Regions from separate parts of the Homo sapiens genome. Here region 1 is linked to region 2. The links are contacts of gene promoters, found by promoter capture Hi-C in human tissues and cell types (Jung and others, 2019). All regions are on one chromosome and are shown on one strand. The core of a region is centred on a gene start or on the middle of the fragment in contact, and the rest is flanking DNA. Distances in the headings are between cores, read along the strand shown. Region 1 overlaps XRRA1 (X-ray radiation resistance associated 1). Region 2 holds the start of NEU3 (neuraminidase 3).

The links. The method cuts DNA at HindIII sites, captures the fragments that hold promoters and counts their contacts. A contact is called where the count stands out against the background at its distance.
Region 1: a contact is called between a fragment that was not itself captured here and the fragment with the promoter of NEU3 in region 2, in 2 of the 25 tissues and cell types used here (liver and thymus).

The regions. Positions count from the first base shown.
Region 1 is chr11:74,864,310-74,871,691 of GRCh38, forward strand. All of the region lies in intron 10 of XRRA1 (X-ray radiation resistance associated 1), which reads right to left. Among named protein-coding and RNA genes, the nearest start is that of XRRA1, 81 kb to the right of the region's middle. The HindIII fragment of the contact is 3,523 bases long and covers 3,291-6,813 here.
Region 2 is chr11:74,983,238-74,990,879 of GRCh38, forward strand. It overlaps NEU3 (neuraminidase 3), which reads left to right and starts at 5,696. Exons shown (of 3, transcript NM_006656.6): 1 at 5,696-5,917. The coding sequence starts at 5,824. RefSeq lists enhancers at 5,446-5,495, 5,776-5,965. The HindIII fragment of the contact is 16,586 bases long and covers 1-5,836 here.

The DNA.
Region 1 (7,382 bases), core at 3,802-6,301, 120 kb before region 2:
TGGAAGACTGAGTGGAGAGACTCTCAGAATGCAAAAAGGCAGAGAGAAGATGGTGGAATAGAAAGTAACCCACTCATGTCCCCTCACAACCACAAAAATTCCACACCCGCCCACAGTCAAAAGTCTCTCTGCAGGAGCATCAAGATTCAGGTAGGAGTTTTTGAAACCCTGGTGGATCCCAAGACATTGAAGGATTGTTTTGAGGGTACAGACCAACACCCAAGTGGCTGATCCACCAAGCTTGCTCCCCAGTTCAAGCCTAGAAACACCCCAGGCTTCCAAGGTCCTGGGCTACAGCCATATTTGGCCTTGAGCCTGCAACCAAAACCATCTGCAGAGAGGTCCAGAAGGAGTAGTGCACACTAGTGCCTTGGTGGAAAGGCTTGTCTGCCTGCTGACATTGATCTTAGCAGTAAGCCTGAAAGTTGCCGTTTTTCTGATCCACCCCCTCTCAGCTGAGGTCCCTGCTCACAGCCTCTTGCACAAGGACCCAGAGGGAGACTCACCTATATCTTGCAGCCTGAGGCTCCCAGATGAGTTCACCAACTTCTGTCCCACAGCAAATTCTGAGGGGACCCAGTTTGAGACCTGGTCCCTCCAGCTGCAATCAGAGAACTAACCAGACTGTGCAGGGACTTGCTGGAAGACACATGCCCCTCTGAGCCAATGAGGCTGGGCTTTCTAGCCTTTACCCTACAGCAAATCCTGAGAGGACCCAGTCTCAGCTCTGACCCCTGTCACTACAGTGGAGAATTATCCTATCTGTGCTGAGACCTGCTGGGAGACACATGCCTGTCTGGGCCAACAAGATGGGCTTCTTCCCATATCAAATCCCAGCGGGGCCCAGTGTCAGCCCTGGCCCCTCCTGCTGCAATCAGGTTACTATCTCATCTGCATAGGGACTTGCTAGGAGACACATGCCCCTCTGAGCCAATGAGACTGGGCTCTCCAGCCTCTACCTCACAGCAGATCCTGTGTGGGCCCAGTCTGCGATTTGGCCCCGCCTGCTATAGTCAGGGAACTATCCTATCTGTGCAGGAACTTGCTAGGCAATGTGCACCTCCCTGAACCAAGACAGGGCTCTCTAGCCTCTGTTCCACAGCAGATCCCAAGGGGGCCTATGGTCAGTTCCAGCCCCTCCCTCTACAATCAGGGAATTATTCCATCTGTGCGGAGACATGCAGGCAGATGTGTGCCTGTCTGAACCACCATGACAGGCACACCAGCCTCCATCCCACGGCAGATCCCAAGGGGACCCAGTCTCAGTTCTGGTCCCTCTTGTTGCAGTCAAGGAACTACTTGTGCAGGGACCTGCTAGGTGACATACACCTGTCTAAGCCAATGAGATGGACCACCAGCTTCATTCCTACAACAGATCCCAACATGCCCCAGTCTTAAATTCAGTCCCTCTGGCTACAGCTGGGACCCATCCTGCCCATGCAGAGACCTGCTGGGAGGAACACATATCTGGGCCACTGGGACAGTGTTCTGGACTCAGGTCCCCTTGGCCAACATTCCCACATAGCCCCAGTCCTGTGTTTGGGTCTTCCCAGAGCCATTTGGGCCAGAAAGCCACACCAATCTCAGTCTTTGCAAGACTTGCAGCAAGCCTGGGTTTAGACCATCGCTCAGTGCTGAGATGCCAGTAGTGGTCCCAAGCTCAGGAAATGTAACAGTCAGTCTGCCTAGAATCCCTGGAAGTCCCTCTGAAGAAGGACAGGCACACACAAAGCCAGACTACAAAGGCAAAAATAAATACCTAATATTTCAAGGCACGGATATCATCACACTTCTACAAACATCAGGAATATTCAGGGAAATATGACGTCACCAAACAGACAAAATAAGATGCCAGAGATCAAACATAAAGTAATAGAGATGTGTGATCTCTCAGACAAAGAATTCAAAAGAACATTTTTTTGGGTTTTTTTATTTTTTTTGTTTTGTTTTGTGCTTTTTTTGGAGACAGGCTCTCATTCTGTCACCCAGGTTGGAGTACAGTGACATGAACATTGCTTACTGCAGCCTCAACCTCCTGGGCTCAAGCAATCCTCCCACCTCAGCCTCCCATGTAGCTGGGACCACAGGCATGCACCACCATGCCTGGTTAATGTTTTTATTTTTTTGTAGACATGGGAGACTCACTTTGTTGCCCAGGCTGGTCTTGAACTCCTGGGCTCAAGCAATCTTCCTACTTCAGCCTCCCAAAGTGCTGGGATTATAGGCATGAGTCACTATGCCCAGCCAAAACAGATGTTTTAAGGAAGCACAGTGAACTTCAAGAAAACACAGAGAATCAGTTCAGAAATTTACCAGAAAAATTTAACAAGGAGATTGAAATAATTAAAAAAAAAAAAAAATCAAAGAAATCCTGGAATTGAAAAATATAATGAATGAAATGAAAAAGTCAACAGAGAGTATCAACAGCAGAATTAATCAAACAGAGGAATCAGTGAGCTCAAAGATTATATGAAAATATACAGTCAGAGGAGAAAAAAGGAAGAAGAATGAAAAGGAATAAAAGCTTGCAGGATCTATGGGACAACATCAAAAAAGAAAATATTAGGGTTGCTAAAGTTAAAGAGGGATATGAGAAAGACAAAAGGGGTAGAAAGCTTATTCAAAGAATAACAGAAAACTTTCCAAATCTGGAGACTGGGTGGGTGTGCACGTACCCCACCATGCCATTACTGCCAGCATAAGCACACCCACTTCCACTGCCACTGCCAGCATGAACATTAAGCATGGACACCAGTGGCCCTGCACCCTGGCCCATCCAAAGGATGGCACCTTCAAAGATTGAAGGAATACCAGCCCACACAGATGAGAAAGAACCAGACAAGAACTCTGGCAAATCAAAAAGCCAGAGTGTCTTTTTACCTCCAAATGACCACACTAGTTCTCCAGCAATGGTTCTTAAACAGGTTGAAATGACAGAAATGGAATTCAGAATATGGATGGGAATGGAGATCACTGACATTCAGGAGAAAGTTGAAACCCAATACAAGGAATCTAAGGAATAAATAAAATAATATGGGAGATGAAAGATGAAATGGCCATGTTAAGAAAGAAGCAAAGTGAGCTGATACAGCTGAAAAGCTCACTTTAAGAATTTCAGAATACAACTGCAATGTTAACAGCAGAATCAACCAAGCTGAGGAAAGACTCAGAGCTGAAAGACTGGCTCTTCAAAATAACTCAGTCAGACCAAAATAAAAAAATAGTAAGGAAGAATGAGCAAAACCTCTGAGAAATATGGGATTATGTAAAGAGACCAAAAATATGACTCATTGGTATCCCTGAAATGCAAGGAGAGAAAGCAAGCAATTTGGAAAACACATTTCAGGTTATCATGCATGACAATTTCCCCAACTTTGCTATAGAGGCCAACATTCAAATTCAGGAAATGCAGAGAACCCCTGTGAAATACTACACAAGAAGACCATCCCCAAGAAACATAGTAATTGGATTCTCCAAGGTCAAAATGATAGAAATGTTAAAGGCAGCTAGAGAGAAAGGACAGGTCACCTACAAAAAAAAACCCATCAACTAACAAACAGCAGACCTTTCAGCACAAACCAGAGGAGAATGGGGGCCTATAGTCAATCTTTTTTTTTTTTTTTTTTTCTGAGACAGAGTCTTGCTCCCGTCATCCAGGCTGGAGTACAATGGTGCGATCTTGGTTCACTGCAACCTCCGCCTCCCAGGTTCAAGTGATTCTCATACCTCAGTCTCCCAAGTAACTGGGATTACAAGCATGCGTCACCGCACCTAATTTTTTGTATTTTTAGTAGAGACAGGGTTTCACCATATTGGCCAGTCTGCTCTTGAACTTCTGGCCTCAAGTGATCCACCTGCCTCAGCTTCCCAAAGTGCTAGGATTACAGGTATGAGCCACTGCGCTGGGCTCAACATTCTTAAAGAAAAGAATTTCCAACCAAGAATTTCATATCCAGCCAAGCTAAGCTTTGTAAGTGAAGGAGAAATAAGATCCTTTTCAGACATGCAAATGCTAAGGGATTTCATTACTATCCGACCAGATATGCCTTACAAGAGGTCTTGAAGGGAGTGCTAAACTTGGAAAGAAAAGACTGTTACCGGCCACTACAAAAACACACTTAAGTAAATAGACCATTAACACTATAAAGCAACCACATGAACAAGTCTGCATAATAATGAACAAATCCTCACATATCAATATTAACTTTGAATATAAATGAGCTAAATGGCACAGAGTGATCAGTTGAATAAAGAAGCAAGACCTGATGGTATGCTGTCTTCAAGAGACCCATCTCACATGTGATGACACCCATAGGCTGAAAGCAAACGGATGGAGAAAAATCTACCAAGCAAATGGAAAAGAGAAAAAAAGCAGGGGTTGTTGAAATTATTCTAAACTCAGACAAAACAGACATTAAACCAACAAAGATTAAAAAAAAAAAGACAAAGAAGGATATTATATAATGGTAAAGAGCTCAATTCAACAAGAACTATCCTAAATATATATGCATCCAACAGAGGAGACCCAGATTCAAAAAGCAAGTTGCTTTTAGAGACATATAAAGAGACTTGGATAAACATACGATAATTGTGCAGGACATGAATACCCCAATAATAATATTAGATCATTGAGGCAGAAAACTGACAAAGATATTAATGACCTGAACTCAATACTTGACCATATGGACCCAATTGACATCTACAGAACACTCCACCCCAAAACAACAGAATATACATTCTTCTCAGCTGCACATGGCACATATTCTAAAGTCAACCACACAATCAGATATAGAACAATCCTCAGTACAATTTTAAAAAAAAATGAAATCATACTAACCACACTCTTGGAGCACAGCACCATAAAATAGAAATACTAAGAAAATTGCTCAAAACCATATAATTACATTGAAATAAACCTGCTCCTGAATGACTTTTGGGTAAATAATGAAATTAAGGGAGAAATCAAGATATTCTTTGAAACTAAAGGAGAACAAAGAGGCAACATACTGATACAGGAGGTAGAAAGAAATTATTTAGGCAGATAGGGTAAAAGAGTCCTCAGCAAAGCTTCCCTTTTAGCAAGAAGCAGCCCAAGAAATTATTTTTTTCTAACAAAGAGCAGCCTGAAAAACTGAGCTGAAAACATAGATAAGCAAGCTGGAAGTTTGCATGGGGGAATGCCAGCAGTTGTGCCAATAGAAAAGGGCTACCTGGGAGCCAGGCATGTCCAACATGGAGGCTCCATCTTTTCTTTTTTTGTTAATATGTGTACAGTAAAGGGATGGGCAACATGGTGCAGGCCAGGCAGAGGACCTGCCTGCATATTAGAAGATTAGTATGGGGGCGACCATTTTTTTGTGCCCTATGCAAATGACAAACCTAGTTCTAATGAGTTTTTCATACCCTATGCAGATGGCACACCTGGTCCAACCAATCTTTCACACCCTATGTAAATCAGATACTGCCTCCTCATCAGGCACCTATAAGAGCCCCTGCATTTAACCACAGATCTGACAAGCCATTTCTCTGGGATCCCCCTCTCCAGCAGAAAGCTATTCTCTTTCACCTATTAAACTTCCACTCTTAACCTCACTCTTTGTGTGCCCAGGTCCTTGATTTCCTCAGCCATGAGACAACAAACCTCGGGTATCACCCCCAACAATGAGGCCACTTCATTGTGGGGCCCATCTGGGATCCAAGGTAGATTCATCAGAAGGGTGAGTATAGGAGCAGACCCCAAATCTTTACTTTCATTTTGGGGCCTTCTGCCCTCCATTTTAAAATAAAACCAAAAACATTCGGTGTCTGATGGCCACCTAGATGCCCTTAGGGAATGCCACCCATCTCAAGACTTAGACAACAGGCTTGCTCGGGAGAACTTAGTGAATCCCTCGGTACCCTCAGGGTGCTGGGAATGTTGACTGTGTTTCAAACCAGTTTCCTTTCATGGAGAGCCTAGCTATTGCATGGGGCTGGAAGAGGTCCAGAGGCAACTGATAGTTCCTGGCCAGGGCTACACCCAGGTGTTACCCGAAGGCTTCTGGATTAACCTCAGACTCTGACTGCCCACTGAGCATCAGTAACAGGATCTCCAAGCTTTTCCTATTGCATTTTTCCTTCTTTCCTGTCGACTGCCATGTCTCCTATCCCCTCTCTGTATGAAATGCTGTGGGAATTTTTACACTTCAGGGAAATAATCCTGTTAGATAGCATCAGCAAATGCCATAGTAACCAGGAATATAATGCAAAGGATTGCCATTTTTGTGATTTTCTAGGAATAGAAAGGATCTCCCTTTCCCTGGCAGTGAGCATCTCTCTCCCCGCTTGCTCTGGAGATCACATGGTATTTCAAGGTCTACAGCACCACCTAGTGGAATAGAAATCCTCTCCATGAGGTACCTTGTCAGCCCTTTGCCTAAACACTCTAGTTTTCCAATTCTCCTCCCCTTTTGTACTCCTCTACTAGAGGCCAGGCTTTATGCTCCTTCTGTGAATGGGAAAACTCAACAATGAGGAGGAAAATGCCCTCCAAAACCAAATTTTAGTTTTGATATTGTCCCATCAGCAGGAAAACCACCATTCAGTTCCTACATTCTTTTAAGGCACTTATTCTGCCTCTCATTAAAATGGTACTTAAATAGTAAGGGGATGTAATGTCTTAAAGTTAACCAGAACCACTGCCTAACAATAAATATTTTAGTCCAGGCCATAATAGCAGTATAGAGCTCAACCCAGTACACTCTCTCCATTAAAGGGCCTTGCAAATACAACTGTTATATAGTCTTTCCCAAGAGCCATCTATCAGGTAGCCACATAGATCACAGAAGTTAGGAAGTCAAAGGGAAATCACCAGTGGAGGATTAGAGTTGCATGGGTGAGTGTGACTAAATCCATCACTTAGCTTCTCTAGATCCATGCCTGAGGGACATGCCTGCATCCAAGAGTAGCACCTTTTAACAGATGCCGAGGCTCAGGGAACCAAGAAGGGAAAACAGTTGGGGGATGCTCCCATTGTCTTCCTGTCTACCTTGGGCCATTCTAAAGGAAGGAGGGGAATAAGGGACTCCTTGTCTCCCCTAGCTTTCTAGCCATCTTTAGCCTGCACCCCGCTCAAGTGCATTCTGAAGCACTGAGACTCCTTTAATCCTGAAACTGCTTTTGCACAAGGGCATGGCCTTCTTACTAGACCTTTGCATGCACTGGACAATCAACCAAGCTCTTTTAGCAGTCATATCAGGCAATCCAAAAGGTAATGATTCCCCAAAACTAAAAAAGCAACTTCAGGCAGCTATTGAGTGTCCCGGCTCTTCCTGTCCCCCTTATTTAGGGCCCCCTCCAACTGTGCCATCAGCTCCTCTAGTTCCACTATCTCCAAAATTCCC
Region 2 (7,642 bases), core at 4,446-6,945:
GCATCAAAGTGTGTTGTTAATACCAATATACATTTAATTGAACTAGGAAAGTTTATAAGTCTCCCATTCAGGGACTACTGCAGTATAGAGAGATGTAGTCTAAAAGAAACAACATACAACCGCAAGAGGAAAAGAAATAAAAGCACAGGTTTAGTTGAAAACTTAGTTACTCCTGTAGTACTCAGGCCATTTTCCATTATAACCAGCTATGTGGACTTTGCAGTCACCAAGGTGAAATATCCTGAGTACTCCAAGAGTGACCTTTAAAAAGATAGGCACCTCTTAGGCTGCTACTGAGCTCTTGAGGAAACAACAGCGGCCAGAGGAGCTTCCTGAAAGCGTAACTGATTCATTTATGCATACTGCAGGCAGTTATCACTATCCTGAGAGTCATCCTATTGGAAATGTTGATAAGGAATTTGTTCTTGACTTTAGCTGCAGTCATCAGTGACACCACCTCAGCTCTGGATGGCACTTAAGTCAGCCTCAATTCATTGGCCAGGGTGGTTATGGGTGATAGAATTGCTCTTCCTCTTTGTGGGCCAAATTGGAGTCAGTGCAATCACTAATACATCCCACTGTGACTGGATTAATGTCTCAGACCGAGTACAGGGTCAATACAGAAACTTGAGAATGCCACTTGGCTTTCTAAGGTAGATCCTGATGGTTTATGATTGTTGGTTTTTTTTTCCTACCTTGTTGGATACAGGCCCTTGGATATGGCTGAAGTCAGTACTGATTGGTCTTATCCTGTTACATAGAGTTCTGTTGATAGTACCTTTAATTAAATGTAATAAAATACTTTGAATGGACCTGGTTCCAGTTTCTGTCAGTTTAATTAGAGTGACAGGTGGAGTGGCATACTTATGGGAGAATTCATCAAAAGCCAAGATGGCATAGAAATGAAAGGTGCATATCGTTGGGAGACAATTCTTCATGGGTCTCTAGCATTTCTGCATATTTTGCAAAGAGAGGCACTGACTATCTTTGTTCCAGACTATTTGTCCAGGAATGTTTGTATAGTAAACAACCTTAGAAGGTATCAGAGCAAAGGGCGCACATGCTCACTGCCCATTATTGAAGATTCAGGTTCCCTAACCTCAAAGTTCCTCTCCTTTAAGGCACTTCATTACATGTGCAGGTATCATCTGGCTCTCTGCGTCATCATATGGGAATTGGGGCTCAGAACTGGAACAAATGCTGGTACTCTGGCTACTGCTATTGCTGTAAGTAACAAACTATCCTTTTTACAGGTAGTAACAGGCTATCTTGTTAGCTTGCAGGTAAGATAAAAATCTCAGACCCTTCACAATTCTTGACAGCCCCACTCCTACTTCTGCCTGTCCCATATCTTGGAAGCTCCCTAACTTCTGTAACAGGAAGTTCCCCCGATATTCCTGTGCCATCTTACTTGATCGCATTACTTAATACCCTTCTGCATCCCTCTTCCTTCAAACTTTTATATAATTCTGCTCTGCTAATACGGGTGCCAGGCCTGATCCCCTCGCTTTAGTTGCTCACAGTCTGCTGAGAGTGTCAGACACTTAGACAATCTGAACACAGTAGAAGGAGGTGCAAAGTGCTATGGGGGCTTGAAAAGGAGTATTTGTTCTAGTATGGAGGTCTGGGAGGTCCTCATACAGGAAGTGAAAACTGAACCATGAGTGAGGAGTTGGGCCATTTTACAGATGAGGAACCTGAGGCACAGAAGTTAAATAAGTTGCCGAGATCACTCAGCTAGGAAGTGGGAAGAGAGGATTGGAGCCAGGATTCTCTACCTCTAAATATAGAAATTGCTCTTTAACTTCACTTTCTCAGGCATAAGATGAGACCATCTGAGTTTACCTCAAAGAATTGAGAAAGATTTGGTATTAGCTTTGGGTCTATAAAATTTGAGATCCACAGAGTTGGTGATTGTGAACTTGGAGAAGTCTGATAAAGAACCCCAGGACATGACCCGGTTTTTATAAAGGAAATATTTCAGACAAATAAGGCTTAAAGAATAATAAGATGAATATTTGTGAACCTACTGCCATTAAAAATATATATATTACCAATACAGTTGAAGTCCTCAGGGTATCCTTAATCATATCTTACTTCCTGCACTTTCAGAAGTTACTACTACCTGGAATGTGGTGTTTATTATTCGTAAGCATTTTCTTCATACATATGTGTCCATTATATATATGGATATATACAGATATATAGAGACATATATGGTTATTTTTTAATTTTATTTTTACCTCCTTGGGAGCTCTTATACAATATATATGGTTATTGTTTTACCTGTTTTTAAACTTTATATGTGGTTTTTGATTGAGAGTCTCCCAAACAACCCCTGTGTTCAGGTATTTGCTAGAAGGACCCACGCGACTCAGCATATATGACTAAGATTTATTCTTCGATAAAATAAGGACACATCTGGATCATAAGGGAAAAGGACACTGGCAGAGTCTGGAGGAATCCATTTGCAGGCTTCCTTATGCTCTTCCTCCCATGAGGGATTGCAAAGAGCCCACTTTGCCCCAACAACAAAAATGCAGCAACACGTGTGTAATGTTTCTGTCCAGGGAGCCCATTAGAGAGTACCCACAGTTTATTGAGGTTTGGTCATGTGGGCACCATCTGCCTAGCACATAATAAAGACTCCTAGAAAGCAAGCAGGTATCCACCATAAATCATACTGCAATCAAACAGTCTACATAGTCAACTACCCTTTTCAGTTAACTGGTGACTGGGAACACTTTGAGAGCCAAGTTTCCAGACACCTGTCAAAAAACACCAACCTTGCAAGCAGGCCTTCCTAAGGATAACCTGTTAGGCCTGCTATGGTAAATCTGCACAAGTACCATTCTCTCTGTATTGTGCAACTTGCTTTTTTGTTCAATATTTTGTTTGTGAAGATAATTTAGATTGATACCTGTAGCTACAATTTATTCTATTTCACTGCTGTATACTGTTAAACATGACAGTTTATTTACCCTATTAATGGACATTTAGGTCTTTTATAATTTTTCACTATTAAACATTTGCTGCTATGAGCATTCTTGTATGGACACATCTAATACAGGTAGTGGGATTCCTTGGTGGGAGAGGATATACATTTTTACTTTTCTAGGTATTGCTAAATTTTCCTCTAAAGCGACTGTACCAATTTACATTCCTTCTATTAATGAAGGAAATACAAGATTGGAATAATTGGGATAGTTGTGTTATCTTTGTGAATAGATTTTAAAATACTGATTTAGATTTTTAAATAGTTGTAAGACTTCACATTTTCCATATCTTAGTTTGGTAACTTTTTCTAAAACTGTATTAACTTTATCTAGATTTTCAAACTTAAGGAATAAAGTTTGTTTAATATTTATTTCTCATCTCTGTTGTATCCCTGCATATAGTCTCCTTTTCATTAATATCATTTATAACTTTTAAAAATGAGTCTTGCCAGAGGGTTTGTCCGGTTTATTAGATATGTCAAGACTAATATTTGCTTTTGTCAGTCCCCTCTATTGTACTTTGCTTCTTGTTTCATTTATTCTGTTCTTATTTTCATCATTTCCTTTTCTACCTTTTTGGGATTTATTCTGTTCTTCCTTTTCTACATTCTTAAGTTAGATCCTTAACTCATTACTGTTTTGTTGTTCTTATCTCCTGGTATAGGGTCTTTATTTGAGTTCTCCCAGAGGCAAGTTCTGAGACCAGGACCTGAGGGCAATAGTATATGTGAGAGATGCAGGGAGTGCCATAATGAGGTGGGAAAGTAGGAAGGGAAGAAAAGGTGAGCAATAAGGGTGTAGCTTTTAGTAGCTATTGATAATTGCTGTCTAGATTCATTAAATTCATTTTGTCATTAAAGGACAAAATGATGAAATTCTATCATTCATTTGGCATTGGTCAGTTAATTATTTTATGAAGGAGAACTTTTCCCCATCAACTATTTAGTTACCCAGAAATAGGGTTTGTACAGGAAAGGCAGAATAAAAAGCTGCTTTCCTTAGCAAACTCTGAGGTGACCAAAGTGACATTTTTCTCCATATGTCGATATGAACTTTCTTTGCAGTCCTTGTTCTTTTTGATGTTCTAATTTTTCCATATTTGGCCAGTGGAATCACCTTCAAATTGATTCTTACCTTCTTTTGACATGACCTGAAATAGTCTTTTATGGCTTTCTTGCTTTCTGTTAAGATGTTCTAGGCTAATCTTATAAATTTTCTTCCCTGCACCTAAAATCAGCCATTTTTTTCATGGAACCCTGGTTCCTTTGGGGACAAAATAGTATTTTAAGACCCATTATTGCCAGGCGCGGTGGCTCACGCCTGTAATCCCAGCACTTTGGTAGGCCGAGGCGGGCGGATCACGAGGTCAGGAGATCGAGATCATCCTGGCTAACATGGTGAAACCCCGTCTCTATAAAAAATACAAAAAATTAGCCGGGCGTGGTGGTGGGCGCCTGTAGTCCCAGCTACTCGGGAGGCTGAGGCAGGAGAATGGCGTGAACCCGGGAGGCGGAGCTTGCAGTGAGCCAAGATGACGCCACTGCACTCCAGCCTGGGCGGCAGAGACACACTCCATCTCAAAAAATAAAAATAAAAATAAAAAAGACCCATTATTTGGGCTTATTACGATGAGTTGGTCTCTGGTTCTAGGCCTTTTTTTTTTTCTTTTTTTTTTTTTTTTTTTTAGAAAAATACAGCAGGTTGTATTGAGGTTGGCACCTATGTTCTTTCAAAGAACCCTCATCATTTTGTGAGTTCTTTCCTTGTGGCACCACGATGTTCCAGGCTCATCTTGTATGTTCCCTGCCTCAGCACAGGATTTTTTTTAATGAGAAAAATATCACGAATTCAAATTTACAGAAGCTTTACATTTTTATGTCCTCTAAGTTAGCAGTCTGTCTTTCCTTTTATTGGCGTTTGTAAAATTTCTTCTTTTTAAAATTGTTATATTTTAGAGACAGGGTCTCGCTCTGTCACCCAGGCTGGAGTGCAGTGGTGCAATCACAGCTCACCACAGCCTCCAACTCCTGGGCTCAAGGCATCCTCCCACGTAGGCCTTCCAAAGCGCTGAGATTGTAGGCATAAGCCACCAGGCCCAGCCTATTACCTTTACGTTGTACTTAGTCCCAGATAAAAAATGACCTTAGATCAGTCCTTTCCTCTTTGGCTGGGGAGAGGGGGGCTTAAATTCCGGTACTGTGAAACAGAAGAATGGACTCAGTGCTATGTGACAAATCTATGTATGTAAATGTGTGTATATACACACACATAAATTATATATATGAATATATTTTCATTTTCATATTTTGCAAGGAGAGTAGCCAATGCTCTGGACCTCTGGTCCTTTTTGTAGGGTACCCTCTGAGGCCGGGAACCTTTGCTCAACTCTCAGGCTGTCCAGGGAAGCTTTAGGCGGTGATACCGAGCTACAGACCAATATAAGAGCTCGGGGCTGTGGCACTGAAGAGAGGAGGCGGCCGTTGGGAACTGAGGTGGGCCCAGGGCTTGAGCTGAGTTGGCGAGGGTGGAGGTGGTGCCGGTCCCACGCCGTGGTGGGGACCGAGCTGCGGGCTGGAGGGAGGGGCAGCGCCGAGGGGGCGGGACGGGGAGGGCTCGCGGAGTAGGCCAACGGTTGGCCCCAACCGCCACTGACTACAGCCTGCGCCCGCCTCTTTTCGTTGCCGTTACCTGTTTCCGGCAGTCGACACGCTCTTCGCTTCTCGGGGCTTGTCTCCGTGTCCTCCGTCTCAGTTGTTTCTCCCTCTCTATCCTCCTCTGTCTCAGTCTCCCCAGCCTTGGGGCCGGTGCCTCTTCCGGGCTTCGGCGAATGAGACCTGCGGACCTGCCCCCGCGCCCCATGGAAGAATCCCCGGCGTCCAGCTCTGCCCCGACAGAGACGGAGGAGCCGGGGTCCAGTGCAGGTGAGCGGGGTTGGGAGACAGGAGAGCTCCCCGAGGAGGACTCAACTGTGGGGACAGGTTGAGCAAGACCATCTGCGTTTGGGAAATCCAGCCTTGGATTATTGAGACAGAGCCACCTAGTCGGCTAGGATCTGACCTGGCCAGAGAATTCTTGGCTAGTCCTATTTTTATTCGTTCTCACAGAAGCCGAACTTAAACCTCAGAATTATCACTCCAGAGATGAAAGGGAACTGAGACTGGAAAAGCCCTGCTTACCAAAGGTCTCTGGGCGGCAGAAAGAGCCCTGAGCTTCAGTTTCAACTTAGGAGACCTGGGTCTTGGTCCAGATTTTACTGTGGAGTGGCGTTCAGTAAGCTTTGTCCCCATCCCGGGCCCGAGTTTTCCCATCTATACCATGAGAGGGTTTAGACTACAGATCTTCAAAGGTCTGGCACGTGGTAGGTGCTCCTTAAATATTACTTGTTAGGAGTGAATAAATGAGATAGGAAGGCCTCCTGGGATTCACTGGAGGCTCATTGGGTTAGTTGGAGGCTGTGGAATTACATTATTATAGTCTGAGAAGTAGGCGGTATTATCTCCATTTTATAAGTGAGGAAACTGAAGCTCAGAAGTAAAGTGACTTGCTAGTAAGTGTCAAAGATAAGTCAGACTTCAGAGTCCATGCTAGGCTATACTCTCTCCCAGTAAGAAAGCGGGAAGGACTTGATGGGAAAGTGATTATATCGAGCAGCAAGTAATCATTTGAATTCTCTGCTTAAATGAACCCCAGAGCAGGCCCATATCTGATTATTTTCTATCCCGTTTCCAGCACCTGATTTGTGTGAAACGTTTTGGGTGGCAATGCCAGAATCACCATCTATATTACTTCTGTCATCAACACGATCAGCATAATTACAAAAATTAATGGCTCTAATTGTTATAGTGATAATAAAGCATAAATGAAATTGTGAGGACATCAAAATTTATAATTAAAGACACCTATTAAAACAGCAGTTTAAAATTTATAAAACACTTTTGAGTGGTTCTTCATATTGATCTGCTTAGGTAGGTATTATTATCCATAGTTTACAAGCAAGGAATCCAAGACCTAGAGGTTGAGTAACCATCAAAACGTCATGCAGCAAGAAATGGAGCTGAGACTTGAATCCAGCCCATGTGACAAGTTGTGCTTCTCCTTTGGTGATTATTTCCCTATTTCCTCTCCATTTCCTTTTTTTTTTGAGATGGAGTCTTGCTGTGTCACCCAAGCTGGAGTGCAGTGGTGCAGTCTCGGCTCACTGCAACCTCCGTCTCCTGGTTTCAAGTGATTCTCCTGCCTCAGCCTCCCGAATAGCTGGGATTACAGGTGGATGCCACCATGCCTGGCCAATTTTTTTTGTATTTTTAGTAGAGATGGGGTGTCACCATGTTGGCCAGGGTGGTCTCGAACTCCTGACCTCAAGTGATCTGCCCACCTCAGCCTCCCAGAGTGGTGGGAATATAGGCATGAGCCACCGCACCCAGCCTCTTCCTTTCCTGTTCTGAGCCCTAACCCGCTCCATGCCTATCCTGTGCTCCATTCTTCTTATCACCTGGAGAATTCCTGTTTAGATTTAACTAATAGTCACATGTTGACTGATGATAGTAGTGTTGGTTTAACTTGTAATTAAGGTGTTAAGAGTTTAAAGTATGTTCTCTTTCAGCAATAAAGGGGGATTTAAATGTTTTTAAGAAAGGGAGTTGTAA